Regions from separate parts of the Homo sapiens genome. Here region 1 is linked to region 2. Evidence: promoter capture Hi-C in 16 types of primary human blood cells and fetal thymus (Javierre and others, 2016). All regions are on one chromosome and are shown on one strand. The core of a region is centred on a gene start or on the middle of the fragment in contact, and the rest is flanking DNA. Distances in the headings are between cores, read along the strand shown. Region 1 overlaps PTPRE (protein tyrosine phosphatase receptor type E). Region 2 holds the start of EDRF1 (erythroid differentiation regulatory factor 1).

Evidence for each region. The method cuts DNA at HindIII sites, captures the fragments that hold promoters and counts their contacts. A CHiCAGO score of 5 or more calls a contact.
Region 1: a contact is called between a fragment that was not itself captured here and the fragment with the promoter of EDRF1 in region 2, in 1 of 17 cell types (naive CD8 T cells). The highest score is 6.5, in naive CD8 T cells.

The regions. Positions count from the first base shown.
Region 1 is chr10:128,040,803-128,047,009 of GRCh38, forward strand. PTPRE (protein tyrosine phosphatase receptor type E) reads left to right here. Exons shown (of 21, transcript NM_006504.6): 3 at 73-188. The coding sequence starts at 80. Among named protein-coding and RNA genes, the nearest start is that of AS-PTPRE, 19 kb to the right of the region's middle. RefSeq lists enhancers at 4,157-4,658, 4,659-5,158. The HindIII fragment of the contact is 1,738 bases long and covers 3,006-4,743 here.
Region 2 is chr10:125,715,494-125,721,528 of GRCh38, forward strand. It overlaps EDRF1 (erythroid differentiation regulatory factor 1), which reads left to right and starts at 4,216. Exons shown (of 25, transcript NM_001202438.2): 1 at 4,216-4,422; 2 at 5,711-5,919. The coding sequence starts at 4,315. It overlaps EDRF1-DT (EDRF1 divergent transcript), which reads right to left and starts at 4,000. Exons shown (of 5, transcript NR_033847.1): 1 at 3,929-4,000. RefSeq lists enhancers at 3,332-3,441, 3,922-4,001, 4,117-5,099. The HindIII fragment of the contact is 5,171 bases long and covers 3,418-6,035 here.

The DNA.
Region 1 (6,207 bases), core at 2,625-5,124, 2.3 Mb after region 2:
TCACTGCCTGGCACCGGAGGGTCCCACAGCTGCTGCTGGATGACCTCTGAGCCTGTCCCTGCCTCTCTGCAGGTCCACCATGGAGCCCTTGTGTCCACTCCTGCTGGTGGGTTTTAGCTTGCCGCTCGCCAGGGCTCTCAGGGGCAACGAGACCACTGCCGACAGCAACGAGACAACCACGACCTCAGGTAAGGACCCCTTTCCCTGGCTGCCTCCCCTACTACCTCCTCCTAAGCTCCTGGGACCATTCAGAGGGTGATAAAGGGGCTTAGGGTAAGAGAAGAATGGTGTGGCTGAATTTCTTAGTGTGCTTTTAATAGTTTGTGCCTCTAAAAACAGGCAGGCTAAATAAGCTAGTTTAGCATTTGGTTGTTCAGCAAAGCTTAGTGTTCTGGAGGTGACCCATCTACAACCCCAGCTGAGAGTCAGGGTCAGCCTTGGCTGGAGGCAGGAGTGCAAAAGGGTTAAAAATCCCCCAAAATCCCCTTGTGCAGAAAACCAACCATGAACATACATGGATGAGGCGATGTGACAGTTAATGATAGGAACTAAAGAATTATTCTTAGGCCGGGTGCGGTGGCTCATACCTGTAATCCCAGCACTTTGGGAGGCCGAGGTGGGCAGATCACGAGGTCAAGAGATTGAGACCATCTTGGCCAACACGGTGAAACCCTGTCTCTACTAAAAGTACAAAAATTAGCTGGGCGTGGTGGTGGGCGCCTGTAGTCCCAGCCACTCGGGAGGCTGAGGCAGGAGAATCACTTCAACCTGGGAGGCGGAGGTTGCAGTGAGCTGAGATTGTGCCACTGCACTCTTGCCTGGCAACAGACAGAGACTACGTCTCAAAAAAAAAAAAAAAAAAAAAAAAAGAATTATTCTTAATATTTTAGGTCAGATATTGGCGTCATGGTTAGTTTTATTTTTAAAAAGAAGAGTCCTTGCCTTTTGACATGCCTGCTGAAGGGTTCACGAGTGAACTGTGATGTCTGGGCTTTATGCAGAAAAGAGCAAGAGGGAAGTGGGGGTGGGGGCTTGTGAACAAAGTCACATCAAGAGCCCCACATGATTCCCTAACCCTGGACAAATGTCCTGCAAACCCTGGACAAATGTCCTGCAAATGTACCACTGGCCCCAGGAGGAGGAAAGAGTAAAGATTTCTGGTGACAGAACCTCTAGCAAGGAGAGCAGTTCTGAGCGCCCACCTGTCTTTTTCCTCTTCATGTTGAAACCTCAGAGAAATCCAAAACCCCAAAAATGAGAGACCAGAAGCTGCCCGCAAATATTAACTTGCCTCTTTGCAAGCCAGCCTTTCAGGGGCAGGTCACTGGTGGTTCAAAGAGTTATTTCAACCCACAATCCCGACTTTTCTTCCCAACGCTAATCGACTGGCCACGTAGAAACATCTGACAAACTGCCCGGATGTACCCTCACATCCAGGAGCCACAATGGCAGAACATCCGTTTGCGCAACAGTGGGGAAGAATCTGCCCGAGCTCTGCAGACAGTCCCTCGGGTGGCACTGTGGGCACCGGCAGGATGACGTCCACTCCACATCTGAGGCTTTTCAGTTTATTTGAAAACAAAATTATTGGGCTCACATATTGCCATAGACATGGGGTGTTACTTGCAGGAGGAGGACACTGTCATGTGACCTCAGCACCCAGAGCAGAACTAAATGTGAAACTCACACCTTGGTCCAGCCTCTGCCAGGGCCTCTGCGTGCTTAGCAAGGCTGCTGGTCCACGAGCAAGAGGGAAATGGGCCTCGGGTTATAAGGCGCAGACGGGCTCGTTTGACCTAGAATTGTGGAGGGGAACCTGACCCTGTGAAGTGCCCTTTAAATCTTCATCTGACCCCTGGAAGAAGTATGAAGGACCATTTCAGATGATAACACGTTTCCACAGTGTGCCAAAATAATAGGAAGCTGTTTCATTTGTTCATCGAACAAAATATATTCAGTACTCATGCAGACAAATTCTTTTACAGAAGGAATTGAAGGTAAATGTTTACAAATTATGTAATAAAATGTTATCTATAAAAAATAATACGTAAAAGAACACAGTCGAAAAATGAGTAGAGAATATGACCAGGTAGAATACAAATATCTAATTATGTTTCACTAATCATGAAAAGATGCTCAACTCTCTAGAAATTAGAGAAATGCAAGTTAAAATGACATTATCATTTTACCTATCAGATGGACCAAAATGCAAAGGGTTGGCAAAATATCCCAGAGAAGAGAAACTGGCTCCATCGCACATTATGGGCAGCATTCCGCAACCTTTGTGGCACCAGGGACTGGTTTAATGGAAGACAGTTTTTCCGTGGAATTGGGGTGGGGGGTGGTTTGGGGATGATTCAAGTGCATTATATTTATTTTGTACTTTATTTCTATTATGATTACATTGTAACATATAATGAAATAATTATACAACTCACCATCATGTAGAATCAGTGGGAGCCCTGAGCTTGTGTTCCTGCAACTAGACGGCCCCTCTGGGGGTGATGGGAGACAGTGACAGATCACCAGGCATCAGGTTCTCTTAAGGAGCACGCAACCTAGATCCCTGGCATGCGCAGTTCACAATAGGGCTCACGGTCCTGTAAGAATCTAATGCCGCTGCTGATCTGACGGGGGGCGGCGCTCAGGCGATAATGCCTGCTCACCTGCCACTCACCTCCTGCTGTGTGGCCCAGTTCCTAACAGGCCACAGACTGATATCCATCTGTGTCCTGGGGGAGTTAGAGACCTCCGCTGTGGATGAATGTAGAAGTTGGACACTTGGGGCTGCCATCTTGGCAATTGTGTTAAAATGTAACAGGCGTACAGGCTAACACAGAAGCTGTCCTACAGAAACACTTGCGAGACACAAAGATATATATGTGTGTGTGTGTGTGTTGCAGAATTGTAGGTAATAGCAGAAAAGTTGGAAACAACTTAAATGTCCATCCTATTTTGGTCTATCCAAAAAGTGGAATCCAAGCAGCTATTAAACAGAATGAGGAAGCTTATCTGGGCTGACATGGAAACTCTCCAAGACAGACAGCCGTACCAGAAAAGCAAGCTGGAGAACTGCCCCGTGGTGCATTTCATCTGTTTCTTTCATATTTAATGTGGCTATATGGGGACGTGTCTTAAAATTGGTAGCACTTCACAATTATAATCAGTATCATTTTTTTTCTTTCTTAGTGGTTCTTAAAATAACGATACTTTTTACAGTCCGTGAAGCTGTAGATGAAACGAGAGGAGTAGTATGGTCTATTTATTTCCCAAACCTGCATATTTATGAACGTAAATTTATAGAAGAAAATGTCAGGAAAGATACGCTTTGAAATCTTAATTATGTTTAACTCTGGCAAAGAGAACAGGTTCCTGAACATTGAAAATTTTAGGCCGGAGTGAGTTGGGACCTTAAACCATTGTCTGCACACCTGTCCTTGAGTGAGCCACATCTTTTCAGTATGGACTTGCTCCGCCTCTAGGGCCCCTGGGGAAGGAGGGCTTGGAATGAAGGTGGGAGAGGAAAAGAGGGATGGAGATAAGATAGGGGACACAGTGAGAGCAGCTGTGCCCTGGGGCAGAACTGAGGTAGTCCCTGGAAGACCCCGGCTCTTGGCCAGAGCTCAGGATCAGCTTCCTGAGCAGAGGGTGCTGGGTGGCTACACTCCAGCCAAGGTTGCCATTCTCTTTGTCTCCTCCAAAGTCACATTCAAGCCTAAGGTTTTCAACTTTCAGGATCAGATTCTATGTAAGCAAACACACACACACACAAGTTGCAAGTGTATGTATGTATAAAATTGGTGTGAACATACACACACTTCACTTTGGGCAATAGCTAGACAGTCATACAGGAAGAAGGCTGCTTCAGGATGACCACCCTGGGGACTGGCCACCCTGACCTCTGTCCCACCCCGTCAGAGCCACAATAACATGAAATGAAAATAAACTGTGACAGGAATTTCTTCTCAGATGACTCCCTGACTCCTGGCTGGACCACATTGGTGCCCAGAGGACATATTTTTGTTTTCTTCCTGGTCCACACCATTTAAAAAAAATGTTTTTAAATTGAATTTCTTACCAATATTTAAAAATCAGAAAATGTTTACATAAAAATATGAATTTCTTCTTTAGGAAAGTGGGAAGAACTAGGCACTGTGGGCACCCCTTGTGCTTGGCCCCAGTGGGCTGGAACTCAGAAGTAGCCATCCCTGCAGGCAGGACATGGGGAGTCCCAACTCTCGCCCCCACCTGGCCTCCCCACACCACCCAGGGATGTTCTTACCTGCCCCTTGAAGGCCATTGGGTTTCTGATCCTGATCTCTGGCCTCCTGAACAGAGGTAGCTACTAAGAAACACCAGGAACAGAGCTGGGGAAGCCACTGGCCCTGTGACCCATCCCTTCTGCCCGTGTGCACGGCCCCTTTCTGGGCTTGGGTGGTTCAGCCCCGTCTTCTATGGAAGTACCCATGTCTGTGACCGCAGCCTTCACTACAGGCAGGAACGTGGAGGCCAGACCCACGGAGGGCTGGTGGGGCCCAGGTGCTCCCTCGTGTCTCTCTCTGATGAGAGGACCCCATGAGTTGGCTTGGACTAAACTTAGTAGTCACCATCTCTGCAGAAGCTGAGCCCAGAGCCTGACCTCTGTGTGATGCAGAAGTGGGAAGTTTCATTGCCTGGGGCCCCGGGAGATGAGGGCAGATGTACCTGGGTACATTCGAGAGGGAGGAGGGGGACCGAGGCCCAAGCTTTCTGGCTGAGTCTGGAGTGTGAGCAGCAGCCAGGCCCTCCGTGGGGCTGGGCTCCAGGCTGCCCCTCCCTCCGTGTCAGGGGTCTTCCCACTCAGCCTGTCGGAGTTGCTCCAGGGCCCTGGCAGAGTGGAGAGGGGTGCTCTCTGGAGCTGCAAGTGTGGAAGCCTCAGGCCAGCTCACTTCCCCAGGGAAGCTCTGCTGTGGGCAGGTTGGAGGTCAAAGGCGGGGGACTGTGGCAGCCACACCCAGCCACTCATCCTAGCACCAACCGAACCTTGTGTGGGGCCAGAACCAGCTCCTCTGGGCCAGGGTCACAGACACCTGAGTGTGGGGGCTGCAGAGGACAGCCAGGCTGCCAGGCTACTGACACTGCTAGCCAGATGGGGGAGGCACGGACCCCACCTGGAAGGTGGGCACTTAGTGGGTGGGCCAGGTGAACAGTGCCCTCTCTCACGGCTGGGGCCACCTCCGCATCACAGACCAGCTGTTTCCTCTGTGAACTTCAACATCTAATGGTCACCCACGTCCCTAAAACTTCATCATTTATGAGAAACGATGGTGCGGACCACTCATAGGGTGCCAGAGTCAGTGCCAGGCCTGGGAGGGTAGGGGATGAGGGAGGAAAAGCCACACCTTCCCTGGGGAGTTTATAACCTAGGGTGCAAGGCGGAAGGCATGAGGGTCCCTTTTAGAATCCAGATGAGGGGTGTGAGGTGAGCGGAGCCTCTGGGGCTGCGGAGCCCTCCCAGTGCCCGGAGCACCCTCGGGAGGCCGTGCCAGCCCTCAGGAGGAAGCGCATGGACCCTGCGCTGGGCTCAGGGCAAGTGATTGGTGCTTCTGGGAACTTAAAGAGTTGGAAGCCCGGTCGTTGCCTTCGAGGGGCTTCCCCAGAAACCCGGGAGCCAAGGCAGTCATGCTGAGGCCTGTTCACTCATGGCAGAGCGAGGTTTGCGCTTTGAGGCATCCAGGGCCCCTCTGGGTCCACAAGAGAGGAGTCCAGTGGGCTTCTTGGAGGTGGGGGCCTTTGAGATTGTCCTCGAGGAGTGGGAACATTTTGGTGATGAGGGGGCTGTGTGGCCAGCGGGGGAGGAGCAGGAACAAAGTGCGACGTTGGGAGAGTGGGTGGGGTCCAAAGGTGGCAGCGAGGCCACCAGTGTCCCTTGGAATTTGGGCTGATGAGCCAGGGGTGGGTCCTGAGCAGCAACAAAGCCACTTAGCTGGGCCTGGGGCTGTGGGTCTCTTTCTGGGTGAGGAAGGTCAACCTGTCAGGTACAAAGGACACAGTAAGAGGCCGGTGGTGGCTGGGCACTCGGCCTCTGACAGGTGGAATCGGGACCTGGAGGCTCTGAAAGGTGGGGTCACAGTGCGCCAGGGCCACAGGCCTCTGCCCAGCCCCAGGGCCAGGCCGCCTCCCTGTGCCTGAGCTCCTGCCCAAGCCCAAGGGGCCCTAAGAGCTGAG
Region 2 (6,035 bases), core at 2,966-5,465:
AGGTTGCGAAAATTTTCTCCCATTTTGTAGGTTGCCTGTTCCCTCTGATGGTAGTTTCTTTTGCTGTGCAGAAGCTCTTTAGCTTAATTAGATCCCATTTGTCAATTTTGGCTTTTGCTGCCATTGCTTTTGGTGTTTTAGACATGAAGTCCTTGCCCATGCCTATGTCCTGAATGGTAATGCCTAGGTTTTCTCCTAGGGTTTTTATGGTTTTAGGTCTAACGTTTTAAGTCTTTAATCCATCTTGAATTGATTTTTGTATAAGGTGTAAGGCAGGGATCCAGTTTCAGCTTTCTACATATGGCTAGCCAGTTTTCCCAGCACCATTTATTAAATAGGGAATCCTTTACCCATTGCTTGTTTTTCTCAGGTTTGTCAAAGATCAGATAGCTGTAGATATGCGGCGTTATTTCTGAGGGCTCTGTTCTGTTCCATTGATCTATATCTCTATTTTGGTACCACCATGCTGTTTTGGTTACTGTAACCTTGTAATATAGTTTGAAGTCAGGAAGTGTGATGCCTCCGGCTTTGTTCTTTTGGCTTAGGATTGACTTGGCAATGCGGGCTCTTTTTTGGTTCCATATGAACTTCAAAGTAGTTTTTTCCAATTCTGTGAAGAAAGTCATTGGTAGCTTGATGGGGATGGCATTGAATCTGTAAATTACCTTGGGCAGTATGGCCATTTTCACGATATTGATTCTTCCTACCCATGAGCATGGAATGTTCTTCCATTTCTTTGTATCCTCTTTTATTTCATTGAGCAGTGGTTTGTAGTTCTCCTTGAAGAGGTCCTTCACGTCCCTTGTAAGTTGGATTCCTAGGTATTTTATTCTCTTTGAAGCAATTGTGAATGGGAGTTCACTCATGATTTGGCTCTCTATTTGTCTGTTATTGGTGTACAAGAATGCTTGTGATTTTTGTACATTGATTTTGTATCCTGAGACTTTGCTGAAGTTGCTTATCAGCTTAAGGAGATTTGGGGCTGAGACAATGGGGTTTTCTAGATATACAATCATGTCATCTGCAAACAGGGACAATTTGACTTCCTCTTTTCCTAATTAAATACCCTTTATTTCCTTCTCCTGACTAATTGCCCTGGCCAGAACTTCCAACACTATGTTGAATAGGAGTGGTGAGAGAGGGCATCCCTGTCTTGTGCCAGTTTTCAAAGGGAATGCTTCCAGTTTTTGCCCATTCAGTATGATATTGGCTGTGGGTTTGTCATAGATAGCTCTTATTATTTTGAGATACAGCCCATCAATACCTAATTTATTGAGAGTTTTTAGCATGAAGAGTTGTTGAATTTTGTCAAAGGACTTTTCTGCATCTATTGAGATAATCATGTGGTTTTTGTCTTTGGTTCTGTTTAAATAACTAAAATCAGAGCAGAACAGAAGGAAATAGAGACACAAAAAACCCTTCAAAAAATTAATGAATCCAGGAGCTGGTTTTTTGAAAGGACCAACAAAACTGATAGACTGCTAGCAAGACTAATAAAGAAGAAAAGAGAGAAGAATCAAATAGATGCAATAAAAAATGATAAAGGGGATATCACCACCGATCCCACAGAAATACAAACTACCATCAGAGAATACTACAAACACCTCTATGCAAATAAACTAGAAAATCTAGAAGAAATGGATAAATTCCTCGACACATACACCCTCCCAAGACTAAACTAGGAAGAAGTTGAATCTCTGAATAGACCTATAACAGGCTCTGAAATTGTGGCAATAATCAATAGCTTACCAACCAAAAAGAGTCCAGGACCAGATGGATTCACAGCCGAATTCTACCAGAGGTACAAGGAAGAACTGGTACCATTCCTTCTGAAACTATTCCAATCAATAGAAAAAGAGGGAATCCTCCCAACTCATTTTATGAGGCCAGCATCATCCTGATACCAGAGCCGGGCAGAGGCACAACCAAAAAAGAGAATTTTAGACCAATATCCTTGATGAACATTGATGCAAAAATCCTCAATAAAATACTGGCAAACCGAATCCAGCAGCACATCAAAAAGCTTATCCACCATGATCAAGTGGGCTTCATCCCTGGGATGCAAGGCTAGTTCAATATATGCAAATCAATAAATGTAAAGAATAAATTTTAAATCACTTCATTTTACGGCTCAGAGGTCTGTTTTGTGGACACAGAGACAGAAATGGAGACGTTTTTAAAATTAAGATCATATTGCACATTGGCTTTTTTTTTTTTATACGGAGTCTCGCTCTGCTGCCCAGGCTGGAGTGCAGTGGTGCAATCTCGGCTCACTGCCAGCTCCGTCTCCTGGGTTCACACCATTCTCCCGCCTCAGGCTCCTGAGTAGCTGGGACTACAGGTGCCTGCCACCAAACCTGGCTAATTTTGTTTTTGTATTTTTAGTAGAGACGGGGTTTCACCGTGTTAGCCAGGATGGTCTCGATCTCCTGACCTCGTGATCCACCCGCATCTGCCTCCCAAAGTGCTGGGATTACAGGCGTGAGCCACCGCGCTAGGCTGCATATTGGCTTTTTAAAATTTCACTTATCACTTAACATTATATGATATGCAATTTAAATGTTCTTAAATATTCCTGAAAAACAAGTTTATGGTTGCACAGGGTTTATTTTCTACCAAAACCAAATTTGACTATCCTCCTCCTAGTGTTAGATATTATGTTCAACTTTTCACCATAAAAAACAATGCATAACTTGCAAAAACCAAAAAAGAATTATTGGCTGCAATATTCAAATGAAATGATAAAAATCAAAATCAATACATGTTGAAGTAAATGTCTACAAAATACACTATTATATCAAATTAACTGTTAAATTTAATTCACTATTATTATTTTTTTAAGACAGAGTCTCACTATCGCCCAGGCTGGAGCGCAGTGTTGCCATCTCTGCTCACTGCAACCTCTGCCTCCCAGGTTCAAGCGATTCTCCTGCCTCAGCCTCCCTAGTAGCTGGGATTACAGGCGCCCACCACCACATCTGGCTAATTTTTGTATTTTTAGTAGAGATGGGGTTTCACCCTGTTCGTCAGGCTGGTCTCGATCTCCTGACCTCAGGCAATCTGCCCACCTCGGCCTCCCAAAGTGCAGGGATTAAAGGCGTGAGCCACCGCGCCCGGCCTGTTAAATTTAATTCATAAAATTGTTTTGTTACATTTGAAAGCAATTTGTGAGTTGAATGCTTACTCATCAGGAGCATTCCTGAAAACGGACAGGACAGTGAGTTGTAAGAGCCAAACGTGAATTACAAATTGAGACAGCCAAATTGCAAGAGCCAAGTTAATTTTTAAAAACACTTTCTGTATCTTACGGCACAACAAAACACTTTTACTACAAAACATGTATTGTATAACGGATGTGGCTGCGTTTGACAGTTTGAGATGACACTGAGGAGTGTGAAAGAGAGCCTGGACCTTCAAAGCTTGCAAACGGCCCGGGCTATTTCTCCACCTCTTCGCTACTCAAAGCGCTGGCATCGTTTCCTGGGAACCTGTGAGAAATGCCGAGTCTCGGACCCATCCAGAGCGCCCGAATGGAAACCTAGGCGTTACGAGGCCCCAGGTTCAGCGTCTCACGGGTCCTGCACCACCTGGGACGCCCCGCAAGCAGCGGGCATGCCGGGCCCCCAGAAGACTCCGAAAGCCACCCATTCCCTAAACGGGGAGGGCCTCGTCCGCGCGTCCCAGCGCCCTCCCCGGAAGCCCCGCCGCTCCCACACCCAGGATGGGGCCACATGGGCACTAAAAGGCGGGCAGGAGCGCCCAGTCTCGAGATGGCTGGCTCGCCTTTCCAGTCCGGGCCCTCGGGGTGCCCGTGTGAAAAGATGTGACACTGAAGCCTGGGGAAGAAGTTTGAACCTCTCACTAATTCACGTAACGGGAGCCGCCGGCAGCGCTGACGGCTGCACCTCCCCTCCCACGCGGACACTACCTGCAGGATCGGACGACCCCCAGAACTGTTTGCCAACAAAGACATGCAGGGGGCGGAGCCTGAGCGTCAGATACCGTGAGCGGCGTGCAGAGGGCGGAGCCTAGGAGTCAGATACCGCGAGAAGTAGTCTCCCGAAGAGGTTCGGACAAGCGCAGGCGCACTACAATTCCCGCCCTGGCCGCGAAGGTGGCACCCGCAGCGGGAGGCGGGGCCGGGCCTTCGGGACAAAGATCGCGAGATTTAATGGCGAGTCACAGCTACTTCTTCCTGGCAGAGACCGGAAGTGCGGTCCGCGGAGCGTCTCTGGCGCTTACCCTGCTTTGGGCCTGCGTTGCTGCTGCTGCTCCTCCGCTCCCCCGTCGTATCGCCTGCCCTGGATCGAAGTGATGGGGGATGCCAAGGAGGCCGGAGCCGAGGGTCCGCCGGCCGGGGCCGCCGCTCGAGGAGGGCTCAGCCTCCTGTCCCAGGGAGAATCCGAGGAATCTTCTGCACAGGTGAGTCCTCCGCGGAGGGGGACCTGCCAGGGATGTGGGAGCGGAGGACCCGCTCCACCGGGGAGGGATGCCACGGTTCCCGGCAGATTCTGGAGGCTTCTCCATGTTTCCCTGACACCCCCAAAACAGGGAGTTGAAGTCCATGCTCCAGTCGGCAGGTATTCGTATTAAAAGCAGTTCTGGTAGCCGACAGGTGAATTAGATACGATCTTTCCTCTCAAGGAGGGTACATGTAAATATGTCGTTCCAAAACGTGGCACAGTCGTGCAAAGCAGGAGGGAAGAAACGGTGCCAGGTAGTGACTCGCCGAGAATGAGACCGAACTAATTCACAAAGGGTGTAAAATGTTTGCCATGCAGAAGAGGTACTGCGTGAAAGGTTAGAATATTGAACCCAGACGCCGAACTTGCTTTGGGAGTGTGCAAGTGCAGGCTGTGAGGAACGAACCCCCAATGCCTTTCTATGAAGTTAGAGACTCAAGAGTATTTGAACCATGCATGCATGCATGAACCGATGCATCGATTACTAAATATTTGCATTAAAACAAAAAGCCCAAATGTTCTACCAGACTATTTTATGAATGATGTGTTATTAAAATTAAAATACATCTTTGGCCGGGCGCGGTGGCTCACGCCTGTAATCCTAGCACTTTGGGAGGCCGAGGTGGGTGGATCACCTGAGGTCGGGGAGTTCGAGACCAGCCTGGCCAACATGGCAAAACCCTGTCTCTACTAAAAATACAAAAATTAGCCGGACGTGGTAGTGCACGCCTGTAATTCCAGCTACTAGGGAGGCTGAGGCAGGAGAATGGCGTAAACCCCAGAAGCCGAGGTTGCAGTGAGCCATGATTGCTCCACTGCACCCTAGCCTGGGCGACAAAGCAAGACTGCGTCTCAAAAAAAAAAAAAAAAAGAATTAAAATACATCTTTAATACTGAAAATAGGCTTTACTAAAGTTTGCATCTAGTTAACATGATACCATTGAGTCTCCTTGGTTTCTGCTTCTCCACTTTACATGAATACATTTTAAAAGAGATGTGGGTGGTCCATTTTCTAGCTGATAACCATAACCATCATACTCCTTGACTCATCTTTTTTCTTTGAAGTTGGTGTAAAAGAACTAAGTAAATGTTACCATTTATGCTCAAATTTATTAAGTGCTGTTAGTAACATGTGGCATACGTTCCTTGTGAAGCCTGGTGTGACAGGTTCTTGTTTTCTTTTTATAAAGGTGAGATTTTTCGTTCTTAGTAATTTTCATTAAAGTTTCACCCAATGTGTTAATTAGGGATCAGCTTTATTTCTTGGAGGCAATGAAGTGAAGAGCCGAGCTGTGGTGAAATACTCTTCTGCCCCTCCTCGAACAGCATTTGCACGCCTTGAAGAGAAAACAGACTTGAAACTCCCACCTGCCAACTGGTTACGAGAGAGTGCCAAACTAGGGCCAGCAGGAACTACCATTCTTGGCAACAGCAAGAAAAGCAAGCCATTTTCAAGGTAAATATTAATCAGTGGCATTTTTACCTGCCCCTCCACCCTCACTTAAAACTCTTATTTGCTTTTAAATTCAGTTTGTAATGCCTATTAACTTGTCGAGATTTCTCTTTAGAGAA